Regions from separate parts of the Homo sapiens genome. Here all the other regions are linked to region 4. The links are contacts of gene promoters, found by promoter capture Hi-C in human tissues and cell types (Jung and others, 2019). All regions are on one chromosome and are shown on one strand. Each heading gives the region's core, a stretch centred on a gene start or on the middle of the fragment in contact. The rest is flanking DNA. Distances are from core to core; before and after follow the strand shown. Region 1 has its middle 22 kb from the start of LINC02123. Region 2 has its middle 66 kb from the start of LINC02123. Region 3 overlaps ADCY2 (adenylate cyclase 2). Region 4 holds the start of ADCY2 (adenylate cyclase 2).

Region 1 (4,291 bases), core at 971-3,470, 70 kb before region 4:
ACACACAGCCCTCTGCAGTTGGTGGGTCCTCGGTTCCGTTGCTGTGCATGGACTGACATCAACTGTAAGGTGGGTGCAGGCTTTGGCCCACTCATGGAAGGTCACTGAAAGACACAGGGCTTGTTTGCTGAACCTAAAACTGGTAACATCATGGATAGCCCTAGAAGCCCACATAAAAATACACTTCACTTTCATAATGTAACTTTTACAAGATGACATTTTCTGAATTCATAAACTTGTACAGCCAATTCCTTAGCTACTGGATTTCTGAGGGATGAGATTTAACATTCTAGTCCAGATCATTTACTTCAGTTTTGCTGGGCCCACCCCACTTTTATTTTTTACTTCAGTAGTTTTATGCTTCCTGCTTATAGATTCAGTGGTAACATCAGTGGGCTTGGATTATTTTGCTAAACCATGGTAGCACATTTTCTTCAATACAAAGTGTCTTGAAAAGCTAAAATAAAACCTCAACCACCTTCATATCAGTGCTGTGGATTTTTCTCCAGAAATAGAGTGGATTTAGCAAAGAAAGAAGAGTTCACAGACTTAAATACTGCCCTGAGAGATTTTACCTGGGCTATTGGCTTTCTTTTCTTTAGAGGCATATTTCTTTCACTTAAAAAACTTGCAGATAAACCAATATTCTTGTACATAATTATTTTGCATATCATAAAGCAAATCCGTGTTTCAGATATGCTGATCAATGAACGAAATATTAAGGTTGTTAGGCTTACCATTATTTTCCTCCTTAAAGCCCTATCAAAATACTAGAAAAAATAATAATAGAGCCTACAGAAATAGTGTGATCTGTTCGTCATAGATTACATCATCAACAATGTTTAGTGGGAAATAACCTCTCACCACAGACAACAAATACTTCTCGATATAAAAAGAAGATTTAAAATAATTGGGCTAGGTTGAAATTTTTTACTTAAAAATGTATTAGAAAAAAATTATCATTCATTCATTAATTAGGTATAAAATATTGTGAGCATTTAGTCAACATCTAATAAGCATTTATTGAGTAAATTAGTTACTCTCCCGTGTCAATATTGGTTGTAATGAAAATCCCAGGCATTGAATTTTCAGGGACAGATTTAATTTCTTTTTTTTTCTTTTTTCTTTCATTATTATTTTATGGGGGCAATGGAGCCTCACTCTGTCTCCTAGGCTGGAGTGTAATGGCACAATCTCGGCTTACTGCAACCTCCGCCTCCTGGACTCAAGTGATTCTCCTGCCTCAACCTCCCAAGTAGCTTAGGTTACAGGTGCCAGCCACCATGCCCAGCTAAATTTTGTCTTTTTAGTAAACAGGAGGTTTCACCATGTTGGCCAGGCTGGTCTTGAACTCCTGGCCTCAAGCGATTTGCCCACTTTGGCCTCCCAAAGTGCTGGGATTACAGGCTTGAGCCACTGCACCCAGCCAGATTTAATTTCAATACTCTTTTTATCACACTTATTACAAATAATCCAACTACTAAAATATAATAAGAGTTAACACATATTGGCACAAGAATAGATTATTTATCTTCACATAAAAGAACCTGATTTTATTTGGCTCTGGGATGGGAGGAACTGAACTGCATGTGGAGTGCAAATATGAGGTGATTGGGTACCCAAGCACGAGTCATCAGATCGTCCCCACTATTGAGCAGGAGTTGGCTGAGAGATTGGCCCAGAACATGCCTCCAAAGTTTTCTAAACTTTTTAATTTTTTAGCCTCTGTGGAATCCTTGCCAACTCTATGATTCACTTTAAAATTTTTTTTGTAGAATTTCTGGATCAATTTGGAAACTAAGACTAGAAAAGATCTGTGTTTCGTCATCTGGAACCCAGGGAGAGGGTGAGGCACGTGGAGTTCCTTGACCCCTCATCTTGCTGAAGCAGCAAGCATGGGTGAGTGCAGAGAAGCCTCACGCACTCTTGGGCTACCAAGAGCTGTGCCAACACTGTTGTGTAAGTTGGCCAGAGAGGAACCCTGTATACTGGACACTAAGTTTTTTACTTCTTCAGAATAAGAAAATTAACGCAAAACCTTCCAGCACCAAATTCAAAATTTTACACATTCTATCACTTACATATAGCTCACATAAGCATTTTATTTTTTTAGCTATTTAGAGCCTGTCTGCTTTGCACATCCCATGAGAGTGCAGTCAACATCTGCTAGCCATAGATAAGACAAACTCTGTGGTTATAAAAGACCCAAACTTCTGCTGTTCTAAGAGCTCCATGACCCGGAGACGCCCCACCTCACTGCTGAGCAACATCTTCCCTGCCCAAGTGCCACTCAATAAAGCTTGTTGTACAATACTGTCATCTCCTAGTCCTGTCTTTTCTTCAATCAGCTCCAAAATTCTTGAAACTTCCGGTGACCAATAAATATGAGGGAATTGGTACAGGACCTGGATATTTAAAATTTGCAAACTTTGCAATTTATCTGCAGGCAAAAAGAATTAAATGAAATAATAATTTCCATAATACTGCTTCAGCTGGTTTGAATCACCACCATTAATGAGTCTCACATGTGAAAAAGTAGCCCGTACCATAAGTACTCTGACAGTATAAAAGTTAGAAAGTACAGTTTATCAAGACAGCATTCATGATCTTGACTTTGGGCAGCCCCTTGTAGCAGGAAGAACCAAACTGGTGATGGGTTTATTTGTGAAGAACACCCTACCAACAGCTCCGTATACAAATGCTGGCCAAAGTATCCCAGCATCTTTAAACCAGCCTCTTGTGATCCTCAAAGATTCCAAGGTCGCATCATTGACAGGAGCATTTCTTCAGAGCAGGGCCTCCTGGATCTGCAGAGGACCTTCTGAAGAAAGGTTGGAGTGCTCTTCCCCAACGGTGTGCTTCCTGTGCACATGGATCCTGGACTTTTGTGGCTGCTGGCTCTCAGGATCTGCTCACCTCCAGCAAGTGTTTTCCCCAGGCCTCGAGTACCCACACTATTCCAAGAAATCAAGCCATTCACAGAGAAGCTTGGAGACTTCTGCCCTTGTTCAATTCTGATAGTAACCACTTATAATAACCATTGAGGTTTGACTCAGAGATGTACAGAAAATGTGCCCTGGGACCGTCTCGCAAGGTCTTTTTTTCATTTTTTGCCTTCTTTGCACAAAGAAACGTGTGTACATTCAGACTCGCATAGCTTTGGTGATTTGGAATTCATTTTTGGCCAACGCTTCACTTTTACATTGATTAGGGTGTGATTGCAGATGCTTTAGTAGGTTTAAGTAAAAAGATACTTAATACAAAGAAGTATACATATACAAAATCATCAAAGGCTGGAGAAACAGGCTCTAGGGGTGCTCTCAGAAGCACCCCTAGTGCTTCTGAGACCCCTAGTGCTTCTCAGTCACCAGACTCTTCTCTTCTGGAGTAAACCAAGGAATTGTTAAGATTGCTTCTAATAGCAGAACTGCGTTTGCCAAAATCAAGGAAATTCTCCCTACTGCTTCTGAAGCGTCTGGAGGCATCCAGAAGCTACCTTGTGAAGTCAGAAGCCACAGAATTTCAGGCTACAGATCCTTGACACTTCTATCACCAGCTATACCAACAAATGGGAACCAATCTTTCGCCATACAACTCAGCTCCAATTCAAAGTCTCCTGTGAGAGCATCCTGTTGGTGGGACTGAGTCTTATTGGAAATGTAGTGACAAAAAAGTCAAGGAAATAAAAAATAAATTCATTTTTACAAACCTCTCTACCTCATTGATTCTTCAGCTACATCTTCATAGCTTAAAGCACCATAGTTTGCTACATGTGAATTTTACTTGCACATTGCTGATAAAAGCGAAAGCTATAGCTGCAACTTATTTCTCTTTTAATTTTCTAGAATGGAAAATGTATTCTGTTCCTTCTCTCCTTAAATGTTTTCTTCAATTGCCTTTCAAAAAATGTTTTTAAATAAATATTTTTATGAGGCTAATTATTGTGACTCTCGGTCTTCTACAAGTGGAGCATCTCTAATCCAAAAATTCAAAATAAAAAATGTTCCAAAATTCAAAATTTTTTGAGGGCCACCATGGTGCCACAAGTGGACAATTCCACACGTGACATCATGCAATGGGTTGCAGTCAAAACACAGGTGTACAACAGTTTATTCAGTATCCCTACGGGAAAAAAGACTTTCCCAGCCCCCTTCAGCTGTGATATATCTTTTCCACACACATCCAGATTTCCCTACTTAAAAATGCCCACAAATGATACTAAAATGGCACGTGTGCAGGCCAGAGACATCAACAGCAGGCTCCCCACCATGCACCATGTAGATTCAAGACC
Region 2 (4,621 bases), core at 1,696-4,195, 110 kb before region 4:
CCCCGGTTCAGGCCATTCTCCTGCCTCAGCCTCCCGAGTAGCTGGGACTACAGGTGCCTGCCACCATGCCCAGCTAATTTTTTGTATTTTTAGTAGAGACAGGGTTTCACAGTTTTAGCTAGGATGGTCTCGATCTCCTGACCTCGTGATCCACCCGCCTCGGCCTCCCAAAGTGCTGGGATTACAGGCGTGAGCCACCGCGCCCGGCCAGTGTGTGTTTTTCTTATACCTCAAATGTTGATCTGTGTTCTAGTTTCTTGACAAGCTCTCTTGTTAACCTTCTGATTGCTCTTGAAGCTTGAAATCTACACATTATTATGTAATTTCACATCCTGTAGAACTGTTCTTTACACCAATGATGAATGGTTCAGCACTTACATTTTAAAAGTAGGAAGTTTGCTAAACAAGCCTAGTAAAATCAGGGATTTTTCTGGGGGAGACAGGAAGGTAAGTTTATCTACAAAGGATAAACTGTTACCTGGCAATAGCTTGGTGGGGGAATCAGGCTACAGTAACAAATTGCAATGACTACATGTCCTGGCTGATACGGTAAAATGGCAAAGCAGATATCAATGCCGTCAGCACTTTCCATAAAACATAAAGTAATCACAGATTAGTCATCAATGTGCCATATGCTTTGTAGGATCTGTGGTAATTAATCGGCATGGCAGATTTAGGTAGCAGTAAAGAGTATAAGTTTTGGAGGTGGAAAGCTACGTGTTCCCATACATAATCTCTTTCATTCTCTGTGCCTTAATTTTTTCATGTGTCAAGTTCAGATGGGAACACTTCCTTGCACTAGCCCAGGAAATAGACCTGTAGACGCTTCATAAAGTCGGAATTGACTCCACTAATATAAGTTTCATTTTCCGTTTTTCCTCTGACCTGGAGAAGTGATTTCTGTGTGCTTCCATATTGGGGAAAACAGAGGGGCTGAAGTTCCACTGTCACGTGCTAATATTCCCAGGGCCAAATGACAGGCAGGCATTTCAGGATGGTCACTAGCAGCTGATAGCAAAAAAAAAAAAAAAAAAAAAAAAAAAAGCTGTTTTTCACATGCAATTAATTGAGGTGTTTTTCACTGGTCAAAAGACCTCTCTTCTTGATATTGATTTTTTTTTTTTTATTTCCAAAAAGGAACCAAGAGGAAAATTGGGTTTGCAGTTCCATTTCTCAATACTTTGAGCCAAACTATTCAGGGAGGAAAGCTTGCTTTTGTTTATGGACAATTTTATTGACTTGTTCTAATAAAAGGAATGTATAACCAGAGAATTATAGGTTGAGAGAGGTGGAGAGCATGTAAAGGGCCACCCCTGCCCTTCTATTGCTCCAGGACATATCCATGTCAACATCAGATAAATGGGAATTTGTCCTATTTTTCAACACAAATGGAAAGAAGAGATTCCACTATTTTCCGGTTTAATGTAACATGTAGTCAGTCTCAAAATAAAGGTGGGGGTTTTTACCCCCATCTTTATATTTATATATAAATTATTCATATTGTGTGTGTGTATATATATATATATATATATAGTGTGTATATATGTCATAAAAATTTGTGCATATAAAATGTATATATAGCATATAAAACTGAGATGGAGATATATAAGGTACTTATTGTACATTACTCTCTCTTCAGTCCTTTTTCTTAAGGCTAAACCATTATTTCCTCCTCTGGGAATCTGTTTTGTTTTGTTTTCCAAATCCACGAATAATTTTTGGATCTTTCCATCAAAACTTTTCAAGTTCTTCTTGCCACCTATAAGCCGAGGAATCCTGATTTTCTTCCATCTCTCAAAATCTAACTATAGAGATATGATCATGTTACCTGATGCTAGCGAGGCAAGCCTAACACCGTTGCTGGGATGAGCTTCGTGTTATCAGGAGGAGAGCCTGCCATCACACCATGGCATCTCAATTTTCATTTACAAATGCTCTATTTGTAGCTAGCCTGATTCTTAGCTCTCTTACCTGCTATTCCACATCATTTTATTTTCATTTCTTTTGTAGTATCTAATGTATTCTACTAAAAAAAAAAAGTAGAGTAGTTGGAAAACTCTTGTGAAAAAAACATATGTATTACATATATACCATTCTTCATGATTCTCAACATTTTCATCATTATTAATGTTTTGTATATATATATATTGTGTGTGTGTATGCGTGTTAGATATATAATTTAAAAGAAAACAATAAGTTGGTGGCTTATGGCAAATTGTTCCTTAAGTCCTGCATTTGAAACATAGACACTGAGTGAATCAGCACATTTGATCATCTTTTAACTACAATAGATAATTATACATTAAAAATACATTAACCATCCAAATACATCTTTTTTCTTATTTATTTATTTATGTATTTATTTATTTATTTTTATTTATTTTTTTGAGATGGAGTCTTGCTCTGTCGCCCAGGCTGGAGTGCAGTGGCGCGATCTCAGCCCACTGCAAGCTCCGCCTCCCAGGTTCCCGCCATTCTCCTGCCTCAGCCTCCCGAATAGCTGGGACTACAAGCGCCCGCCACCACGCCTAGCTAATTTTTTTGTACTTTTAGTAGAGACGGGTTTTCACCATGTTAGCCAGGATGGTCTCGATCTCCTGACCTCGTGATCCGCCTGCCTTGGCCTTCCAAAGTGCTGGGATTACAGGCCTGAGCCTCGGCGCCTGGCCCAAATGCATCTTTAGGAAAATTATATTTAAGCTCTTCATGGAGACATTAAAAAACCAAGCTGCATTAATGATAAATAATTATATCATTCATTAGTAAGGAGTAAATAGCTGTTTTCTATTTGAGAAGTATTAATTGGATTGTCCATCTGTATGCAGGAACATCTGTTTTCTGACATGCTTTAATCACCATTTGTTTTGTACTTGTACCATAATTACACTTGTTTGTAATATTGAACTCGAGACAATGATTAAATCAACTTATGAATACGATTCTTTTATGCTTTTATATTTCATTAGAAAATGTGTAATTCTGGTATGACATTTATAAGTATATATAAAAGAAAGTATTTGATTCACAAAATGCCCCAACAGATTATGTCAGTAAAATGAGTGTTATATTATGCAGTCTATGTTATTATTTTAGCATTTTTAAGGAAAGTTTATTGCTTCACGGAAGCTTTTTTTTAACTGACCATCTATGAATTTTCTGTATTCTTTATTTCAGTGTGATCACATGGTCATAGAAGAGACATTTTTAGATCATCAGAAGTTGACAGTTTTCACTGTAGTGTATGTGCTTAGTATAAGATGGAATTAAGTTTGTTGTATGGGTGATTGATGAATTTTTACTGAATCATGGATAACTGCTGTTCTATTAATGACATTTCATCAATCAACTGTTTGGATATGGTTTATCACAAAATGTTGCTGACTTCATGTTTGTGGATTAACTGAGGTGAAAGTGATACCTGGTAGAAGTTTCATTAATACAAATTTTCCTCTCTTAGGAGTAGGATGGATTATATTATTTGTTGAAATGCCTTTGCATGTAAGTTCTTAACTGTCAGTTTTCTTGTCCTGTGAATCATATCTTTTCTGTATTTGCTGAAATAGAGACTTAACATTGTTAAATGATTTGTCCATGTCATGGAAAATGTATGCCTCTAAATCTGCGTTCCTTCCTACAAATTACAAGTTCAAAATGACTTTTTTTAAGAAACCAAAAAAAGATGGATTTCTGGTATTTTGTGGCAGGATAAGCTCCCTGTAGCCTATCTTACATGTTGATTACAACTAAAACTATGAAAAGTACAATAAGCAACTAACTGAGGAATCTGAAAAGTAAATAAAAGTAGAATTATGAGTGATAGGCAAAATCTGGAGAAGCACCCTGCAGTAGTGTGAGCTTCCATTGTTGTATTTCTTTCAATCAAAACCAAAACAAACAAACAAAACAAACAAAAACCAGAAAAGAACACCACCAACAAGAAAACACTCAAGGAAAATAGATATTGTGATAGAAACAGCAGAAATGTTGAGAAACAAAACCAGAAGGTTAGAATTATTAGAGAAAATAATATAAAAAGAGTAATTTTAAAGTATCTAAACAAAATTTTAAAAAGGAATTTAAAAAAATAAGCAAGGAGAAGACAATAAAAATAGGTTGATAATTCATTTGTTAGCATTTGTCTGTTTGGTATTTGTTGACCATTTTATTTAAAAAAAATTTGGCTCTATTTGATTTTGGTGTATTTCTTGTATATGTATTGTAAAATTTAGTATTTATTATTATTAAATATTTTATATTGTTAAATGATGATTTATTTTTATTGATAAGAAAGATGTAGTTTTCTGGTTGTTATTTTTGTAATTTTACCTGCATTTATATTTTTCTCCATTTATTTAGATAATACCTAATGGTTCCCCACAATGAGTGGCAATTAAATTAGACTCTATGCTATTTTCACTTTCTCAACTTCTCCTGAACTATTTGATTTTTGTGGCAGGATATTTCTTAATATTTGCCTTTTTGCCACTTAATGTTTTCATACTATTATGGGCAAATTTTGAGATTTAAAATGAACCCACTACTCTCAGCTATTATAGATGAGGCAATCAGGGAGCTAATTCCTACTTTCCCCTTTCTTTTACTCTTTCCTCCTAGTTGTTAC
Region 3 (4,137 bases), core at 688-3,187, 100 kb after region 4:
TCTTTTGTTTGGAAGACTCTAGTCTGCTACCATGAACTCTTAAGATAGGATAAATTAATTAGCTTTGGAAATTAATGCTATAAGCATAAAACGGGATATTATTGCAGAAGAATAGCAGACCTTAATATCAGAAATTTTGTTTTGTTCCCAGAAAATGAATCTAAATCTATTTGCAAAGGAGGATAGTTATTTTTGCACAAAATGACCTAAAATGAGTGTATTTATGAATTGCTTTTAATCTTGAGGAGACTAAGTTATTTCATCTGTTGGTAATAAAAGTTGCTTCTTAAATAGTGTTTTATTTCCAATGCAGTTGGTCTCATTACAAGTAAACCTGGAACAATCATACTGTACCTTTTTTTCCCTCTGGAACGTTATGCGAGTATGCTAAATCTGAACATTTTGACATCCTTATCTAAAAATAGTCTGTGAAATACTTTTCATTTCTTAAATTTAGAAATAGATTTGGAGGCACTTTCAATGAATTATTTAGCCAGTCAGTGGAAAGTTTTCATTTTAGAAAAAGGAGTAATCACGTAGAAGATGACTGAATTTATAAAAATAATTTTCTTTCACGCCTACCAATACATGTGTGTTCTTTCTCTGCAAAGTAACCCATTGTAAGTGCAGTTCTCCTAGGCAAGCACTGAAGGGTGGTTGTTGCTGCTGCATAGTCCAAGATTAAAGTGTGAATGGCCTGTTTAAAATGTAAGAACCAAAGATTGGAACTATCAGGGGTTGTCTAAGACTTATGATTTTTCATTAAATATTTGATTTTGAAGGCAAACAACACACCATGCAAAAGGGCATGCTGAATAATAGTTCTGATAAATCCACTCTAATTTATAGGGGAGAAACTCTTAGCAAGATAAAAAATCAAAAGGAAATTTCCTATACACTTTATAAAATGTTTATAAAAGCAACAACATTTTAATAAAAATCGCTAACTCCAAATTCTTAGGAATGTAACATTGGAGGAATTATCATTAAGACGAAGACTAAAGAGGGTGTGTGCTCTTAATTCTGTTGGGTAACACTGTACTTAACCAAGCTGGTTGAACAAGGAGAAAAATGAAAGTATACAGAAAGGATAAGAAAAAATGATCACTAATTGTGGCTATTACACATTGACCTTGATATATAATAGCTGAATGAATTCGGCCATGTTATTTAACCTCTCTAAGCTTTAATATTTAATTTTTCAATTGAGAATATTAATACCATATACTTCACAATTTTGTTGTTAAAATAAATTGGATAATGCATATAAGATTATTATTTTACAATAGTTGACAGAGAGTATGCCCTCTGTAAATTTTAGTCATTTTTAGTATTAGCTCCTGATAAACGAGAGACTCAATTGAAAACCACTAGCATTAATGGAGGGATTAATTACGTTAGGAGTGAAGCTTAACTACTTTCCAATATATAAGGAACAAAAAGTTAGCAAATATAATGGGGCAATAACTTTATTTACATGAATAATATATCTAGGAATATTTTATATGAATATATCAGCAATAATATATCTAGGAATAAACATAAGCAATGGTCAGAATTTCCTTGGCATTAATCGTTTTAGGTCAGTTTTCTCAGGTACTTAATTGACCCTTAAATATATAGACTCAGGTCCTTATTAATTTCCCAACTACACTTGAATTGTTCAGAATTTCTTGAAGAAAACTATCAAACTTTAAGGAATGCCATAAGAGAAGCTATCAATGCATCCAAAGATAAAGCACATTCCCACTTATGAAGATGCAATGTTCTTTAAAAAGTATCAAATTTCCCATCTTTAATCTCTCAAATGAAGGCAGTCTCAACCAAAATACACATGCAAGTATGGGAAGATTAATCACATGTCACTAACAGTATGGAAGATACACAAACAAGAATAACCAGGGCAGTTATATAAAGCAGATCTGTAGAGAATTACTTGAATTTTTGTGATATTAAAATGTATATGGTTTATAATTAAAAGAATAAAAATGGATAGCTGGAACAGAAATAGTTTCAAGTATAAATGTGTCATTTCGAATCAGTGGGAAATTAATTTGAGCCTTCAAAAAAAGTGTTAGCTAACCATTTGGGAATAAAAACAGGAAATTACAGTTTCCAGTTTCAGTATTCTAGTGTCAGTAATATCTAGTTGAGGCGGCCTCATAATCTAAATTTTTTCACACATCCCTCCAAAAAAATTGCATCAATAAGGAGAGCAAATGAAAGCATCCAAAAGTCATTCATAATTCATCCATAATGAGGAGAGAGAAATTAGCAAGCACCTATGTAATTTTTATGTTGAGAAATAAACTTTCACGTACAAGCTACCAGCAGAGCCGGATATGGAAACCATGCCCAGGTGGAATTAGGAAGAAATTGCACCGAAAAAAAAAAGTTGCCTGAACTAAACAATGTTCTTAGTGAAATAATGTATTTAATTTGGCACAAGTTTCTTATATTTATTTAACCAGTTACCAGTCGGTAGACAACACTTTCAGTAGCACCAGACTGAAGGACCAGAATTATCTAAGAAGAAATGACTGAAAAACATAGACAAAAGGACTTAGGGTGTCCATTGAATAAGTGAATATACTGAGTTCTGCAGTGTATTCATTGAAACTGGAAGCATGGGTGAACATTTACAGTGTTTTCTAGGACACCTTCATTTTGTAAAACAAAAACAACAATAATAGTAAAAACAATATTATCTCTTTTCAAACTTTATGGATACTCTGTAGATCCGAGAGTAAAATGAAAGTAGAGACAAGTGTGGGAGAACAGTATATGTAAATGTTATAATTTCTGAAAATATAGAGATAATCAAACTTATAAATGGGAGTAGTATTGACAAGGATATAGAGTAAGTAAAACTCTTTTTCTTTTTTCGTTTTTTTTTTTTTTTTTTTTTTTTTTTAAGACAGAGTCTCGCTCTATCGCCCAGGCTGGGGTGCAGTGGCACAATCTTGGCTCACTGCAAACTCCACCTCCCAGGTTCACGCCATTCTCCTGCCTCAGCCTCCCAAGTAGCTGGGACTACAGGCGCCCCCCACCGCACCTGGCTAATTTTTTGTATTTTTAGTAGAGACGGGGTTTCACCGTGTTAACCAGGATGGTCTCGATCTCCTGACCTCGTGATCCGCCTGCTTCAGCCTCCCAAAGTGCTGGGATTACAGGCGTGAGCCACCGTGCCCGGCCAAGTAAAACTCTTATACAATGCTTTTGATAATGTAAATTGGTTCAACTACTTGAAAAACTGTAAATTAGTATCTACTATAGTTCAACATGTGCACAGCCTACTGCACAGCAATTTCATTCCTCAGTTTATATTCAACATAAATGTTAAAATATATTCATCAAAGATATGTACAAGAATGTTCACAGCAGCACTGTGGTAGTAGTTTAAATTAGAAAACTACCTACATGTCCACTAGCAGAAGAACAATGAAATAAAGTGTGCTATATTTACACAATGGGATGCTAGACAGTGATGACAATGAAGCAACCATAATGATTACATTCAGAGACATGGCCAAATGTCACAAGTATAATGTTGGCCAGAAAAAGCCAAGCATAAAAGGATATATGTTGTATGAGTCCATTCATATAAATCTTAAAAATAGCCAAAATTATCCATGGGGTTTGAAATCAGAGAGTGTTTTGTTGTTGTTGTTGTTGAGATGGAGTCCCGCTTTGTCTCCAGGCTGGAGTGCAGTGGTGCCATCTCAGCTCACTGTAACCTCTGCCTCCCGGGTTCAAGCAATTCTCCTGCCTGAGCTTCCCCAGTAGATGGGACTACAGGCATGCGCCACCACAGCCAGCTAATTTTTGCATTTTCAGTAGAGATGGGGTTTCACCATGTTCGCCAGGATGGTCTCGATCTCTTGACCTCATGATCCACCCATCTCGGCCTCCCAAAGTGCTGGGATTACAGGCATGAGCCACTGTGCCTGGCCGAGTGGTTTTTTTGTAGGGTAGTTGCTGGAGGGAGAGGGGCACAAAGACAGGTTTCTGGAATGCTTGAGATATTTTGTTTCTAGGTCTTGACTATACAACTGTGTTCACTTTGTAAAATCCATCATCCTGTGCAGTTAGAAATTTTGTACTTTTGTATTTTGATGCCACACTTTAATAAAAGGT
Region 4 (4,632 bases), core at 709-3,208:
GGGCAGGATGACCCACGGTGGGAGGTGAGCCTTGGGACCTACAGGAGGCTTCAGGGGGACACCCCCCCACCCATTGCCTCCTCCTCCACTCCTTGTTTCCAGGTCCTCAGAAGGAGGGAAGTCCAGGGACCAGGGAGCCTGGTGGGGCCGGACCTGAGGTACTGCACGCAGCCCTGGGCCCAGTCTCCTCGGCCACCTCCCTGCCTCTGGTGTCTATGAGATCTGCGGGTGAGCTGTGCAGCTCCTGAGCCCTCATCCTTAGGCCCTGTGGGCACTGACGGATGCTAAAATGAAAACCTCTGGAAGGATCCGTGCCCGGCCTGGCCCTGTGCTCAGGGTAACGCAGCTACCTAGCTTACATGCCCTCTGCCAGCGAGGAGGACAGGACAGCCAGGGAGGCGGGGCATGGGGCCATTCGAGAAGGTTCTGAGGTCTTAGGTGGTGACAAGGCTGAGTCCTGAGAGCTGGTCATCTCCTGGAAGAGATGAAAAGTGCATGGAACAGCCCTCTGGGGCTGCCCTCTGGGATGCTCGCTGGTGGCAGGAGAAGGGAGGGCTCTTGTGCCTTGGATTCCTTGGGGTAAGGCTTTGGGGGAGGAGGTGGGATTTGGGGGCTCTTTGGGCCGGACCACACTCGAATAGGAGGAAACTTCCAGAAGGGTGGGTTCCTTTGGTGATAAGCAATGAAGCCCCTTCGGCCCCCAGGGCGAAGGCCAGCGGCCTCCGCTCCCACGCGTGTCGGGAGGGGACACTGTCCCTGGTGACATCCGCCCCCACAACGCTCCTGCCGGGTCTCTAGCGCCTCCTGCGTCCAGGCCCCCAAGGTGACAGGGAGGGAGCTACTCCCAGGGCCGACCCGCCCGCTCCCGCGCCCAGCCGCTCTCCCCGGCGCCCCTTTGCCGCCATCCCCGCTCAGCAGAGGGGCTCGGCGAGGACCACGACCAGCCACGGGGCAGCTCTGTAAACCTGTGATATGACAGGCTTATACGGCACCTCCAAAGTGTGACTGAAGCTGAGCGTGCAGGGCGCAACGGACGCTGCCCCCGCGAGGCCGTGGCGGGGGCTCCCAGTGCAGTCACTGCCGCTTCACTTCCACATGGTGCCGGTCTCCAGTTAGGTCCCCTGGCGTTTCCGCGCCCTGCCGCCCTCGCAGGGAGCCCCGGCCCTCTCAAGAGGGTGGAGAGGATGGGGGAGCCCTCAACCCTGCTACGCTGAGGGGAAGAAGGGCTGGACGGCAAACCGGTGCCCACCGCGGGGAGGCGGGAAGGGTGGGAAATCCTCTCCAGCTCCCCAAAAGAGTGAAAAGGAGGGAGACCCCGCTGTCCTCTGACCCGCGTACTAAAGGAGGGACCCCCCGGGTCCTCTGACCCCGGCTGCGCTCTGTGACTGTGGGGGAGGGTGGGAGCAGGCCCCGCAGCCCACTAAGGGGTGGAGGAAACAGGAGGGTGGCAGCGTCCCTGCCCGCTGACCTTGAGGTAGTGGAGAGGAGCTGAGGAGCCCCGCAGTGCTCCGAGCCAGGTGGGGCGGGGGGAGTGGTGGGGGTAGGACTCCCTCCCTCCACCCCTTAGGCTGTGTTCTCACTTCGTAGCGGGGAGGGCCGTCCCTCCCACCCCACCCACGCTGCACTCGGGATAGGGCAGAGGAGGTGGACGACCTGGTGGCTGAGTGTGGGAGGCCGGCGGGCGAGGACGACCCCGGGCCGGGGCGCAGCGGGAGCCCCTCAGTTCGCCACTCCCCCCACCGTACAGCCCCCGCCGTCCCCAGCCTGCAGCCGGGCCGTCGGGTGGGGGCCGACACCGCCCCTGCACGGAGGCCGGCTGCGCGCGGGGCGGGGAGCGGCGGGCGGAGGGCCCCGTGGAACCCGCCCCCTCCCGCGCGGTGGCGGTGGCGGCGGCGGCGCCGGGAGCTGCCCCCGAGGCCGCCGCCCGGCCCCCGCCCGCGCGTCAGCGCGCCCAGCCCGGGGCGCCGAGCTCCGCCCGCGCCGGAGGCCCCTGCGCGCAGCTCCGGGTGCCGGCAGCCGGGCCGGCCGAGGCGGCGCGGGGGTGGGACGCGGGCGGCCGCGGCGAGCGGCGCTGCCCGGGCCGGGCGCGCACGGCGGGCGCCCTGTGAGCGGCCCCGATGTGGCAGGAGGCGATGCGGCGCCGCCGCTACCTGCGGGACCGCTCCGAGGAGGCGGCGGGCGGCGGAGACGGGCTGCCGCGGTCCCGGGACTGGCTCTACGAGTCCTACTACTGCATGAGCCAGCAGCACCCGCTCATCGTCTTCCTGCTGCTCATCGTCATGGGCTCCTGCCTCGCCCTGCTCGCCGTCTTCTTCGCGCTCGGGCTGGTGAGTGGCCTCCCCGCGGGTCCAGCGCCGCGCCTTCCCCGGCCCTGAGAGGAGCCCGGCCAGCCGAGCCGCGTCCCGCTCCGGGCTGCCCCTCGGCCCGCGGCAGCCCCTCGGCCCGCGGCAGCCCCTCGGCCCGCGGCTCCCTGCTTCTCCTGCTGGCCCGCGGCCCGGTGGACTCTGGCAAGGGCTGCGGGCGGGAGAAAAGTTTCCTGGGAAGGCTCTTCCCAAAATAAAGTTCCCGAGGTGTTCACCAGGTGGACGGGCAGGGCGTGTGCTTTTTGCATCTTTGCGCACCCGCTGGCAAACTCTGCGCTTTCCGCCGGGCACCGCTGCCCGCAGCGCTGGAATAGGTCTTCCCCGACTCAGCCCTGGGCTTCCTGGGCGAGTCGCTGTCTCCTGCCCGGTTCCACTGGCATGGCCCCACAGTTGGCATTTTAGTTGGGATTGGGCGTTATTCAACTCTGCAGAAAGCCTGCCTTGGGAAAGTGGTTAATGACAAGGAAAATGAAGAAGAAAAATTAAGTATACATCTTTGCCTTTAAATCTGTATGCATTTAGCTCTTTAGCCCGATAGACGGAAAGTGATGTGGTGTTGACTTGTGAATCAATCTTTCATCTCAGAGACTACAGTTAAGAAGCGTTTGGGACGGACGATTGCTTTCCCGTTTCTAAAGAAGTAACGTGTTTAGGGTTTTGGACAGGTTATTAAAGTGGATTTCATCACGAGGAGTATAATGCAGCTCAACAGCTGATGTCAGTTTTGCCAGTTTATATTTTTCAAGCAGAAATCCTTGGCTCGCTCCCTTGAAAAGTGAGGGGAAGTCTGTAGATGGCGATAACTTCCTGTTACTGATCTCTGAGTGTGTGGTTCAAACTTTTGCACTGCCTGTGACATGCATGTGCAGATTTTGTGCGAGGCATTGATTATCCACCAGTGAGTTTTTTTTTTTTTTTTTTTTTTTTTTTTAGTCAGTGGTTGATCTGTGAATGTGTCCACTGGGTGATGTATTTTGAGCTTAGAATATAAATATGTGCCTATATTTATATGTGTCCACCACCAAAGAAGTGGATTTTGCTTATATTTCACCATGCATAAAATAGCTGTCCTTGGTATTTGGCAATTTGTTTAGGATGTCCGGAGCCAGATGGTGTTCAAATGTTATGCATGGGAAGAATTGTTACCATCATGTTTTTAAAAAATAAAAAAATTCCCCCACACCACTCAATGGTAGCTGTCTACTGATTGAGTTCAATGAGGTAAGAATAGAAATAGAATGTAGGAGGCCATGAAGTCACAGATCACACACTGGCTCTTGTACTATCAAACCTAGAGCAGAGAGTAACTTTTGATCCCTGTAGTCTAGATAGGAGTCCGGAGAAACCCTCACTCTCTCCACATGTAACCAGCCTTCTATGCTCTCTGGAATGGCATTTTTATCTCTCTTTACTACTTTTAGGAACAAAAAGGACTTGGGGAGAGACTTCTGCTCAGTCTCATGGGCAAGCAGGATCTCTAAAGTCATCTACTTATTATTTTTTACTTGCCAGGAAGAAAAGAAACATCAGAGTTTTCCTTTGGAAATCTGTTCTGCTGGGGCATTTCAGCTTGTGATTCTCTTGAACCTGTAATTCAAACCTGCTCTGGCTTGTTCTCTTCTAAATGGAAAGGAGCAGGTGATGACCTATTTATAGCAGCATTAATATATTTAAAGACAAGTGTGAAATTCATGCTTCCTCTGCACACACCACTTTGTTTTCTGTGATGGAGAATTCTAATTTCTTAAACCTCATTGATAGAGATTCTTGAATGGGTCACTCAGAGATTTAGCATTATTGGGCTTAAAGCACCCTTCTTTGAATTGTCTTTGTTCTTTGTATTTGTGTGTCTATATTCAATTCCTTTATGTTCCATTTTGCTTGGTGCATATGTGTTAGTGGTACCCTTTTCAAAGCGTTTTCCACGCATCTTTACTTTTCCTTGATAAATCAATCATTTTAATGCTCCTCTTGCCTTCAGCTAAATCATTTTAAGCACAAAGTGGGCATTTCCCACAGCATGGCTGTCACCTATGGTGAGGTCCAGAGACAGTGAAATGAATCCTGTCCTTGGCCATACCTAATTCATGGTCTCATGTCTACTATGTGCACCCTTCAAAGAGATAAGCTGTGCAGAAATGTTCCAGAATCAGGGAGGGTTACTCAGTCTGATAGAAAAGCCACCTTCAGGCAGAGACCAGCTGCAGGACCAAGTCGGAAGGAGCTATGCCTAGGAGAAATGTGCCCTGTGTTCTGAAACCGGACCTGA

The links. Contacts are between HindIII fragments. The study calls those that stand out against the background at their distance.
Region 1: a fragment that was not itself captured here is called in contact with the fragment with the promoter of ADCY2 in region 4 in 6 of the 25 tissues and cell types used here (H1 embryonic stem cells, heart left ventricle, mesendoderm cells and 3 more).
Region 2: a contact is called between a fragment that was not itself captured here and the fragment with the promoter of ADCY2 in region 4, in 3 of the 25 tissues and cell types used here (liver, mesendoderm cells and thymus).
Region 3: a fragment that was not itself captured here is called in contact with the fragment with the promoter of ADCY2 in region 4 in 2 of the 25 tissues and cell types used here (dorsolateral prefrontal cortex and small bowel).

The regions. Positions count from the first base shown.
Region 1 is chr5:7,324,291-7,328,581 of GRCh38, forward strand. No RefSeq gene overlaps it. Among named protein-coding and RNA genes, the nearest start is that of LINC02123, 22 kb to the right of the region's middle. RefSeq lists an enhancer at 2,046-2,340. The HindIII fragment of the contact is 3,657 bases long and covers 393-4,049 here.
Region 2 is chr5:7,279,811-7,284,431 of GRCh38, forward strand. No RefSeq gene overlaps it. Among named protein-coding and RNA genes, the nearest start is that of LINC02123, 66 kb to the right of the region's middle. The HindIII fragment of the contact is 4,387 bases long and covers 753-4,621 here.
Region 3 is chr5:7,495,353-7,499,489 of GRCh38, forward strand. All of the region lies in intron 2 of ADCY2 (adenylate cyclase 2), which reads left to right. Among named protein-coding and RNA genes, the nearest start is that of ADCY2, 100 kb to the left of the region's middle. The HindIII fragment of the contact is 3,128 bases long and covers 374-3,501 here.
Region 4 is chr5:7,394,180-7,398,811 of GRCh38, forward strand. It overlaps ADCY2 (adenylate cyclase 2), which reads left to right and starts at 1,959. Exons shown (of 25, transcript NM_020546.3): 1 at 1,959-2,327. The coding sequence starts at 2,118. LOC107986403 (a long non-coding RNA gene) reads right to left here and starts at 1,770. Exons shown (of 2, transcript XR_001742597.2): 1 at 1-1,770. RefSeq lists enhancers at 509-1,274, 1,275-2,040. The HindIII fragment of the contact is 8,449 bases long and covers 1-4,632 here.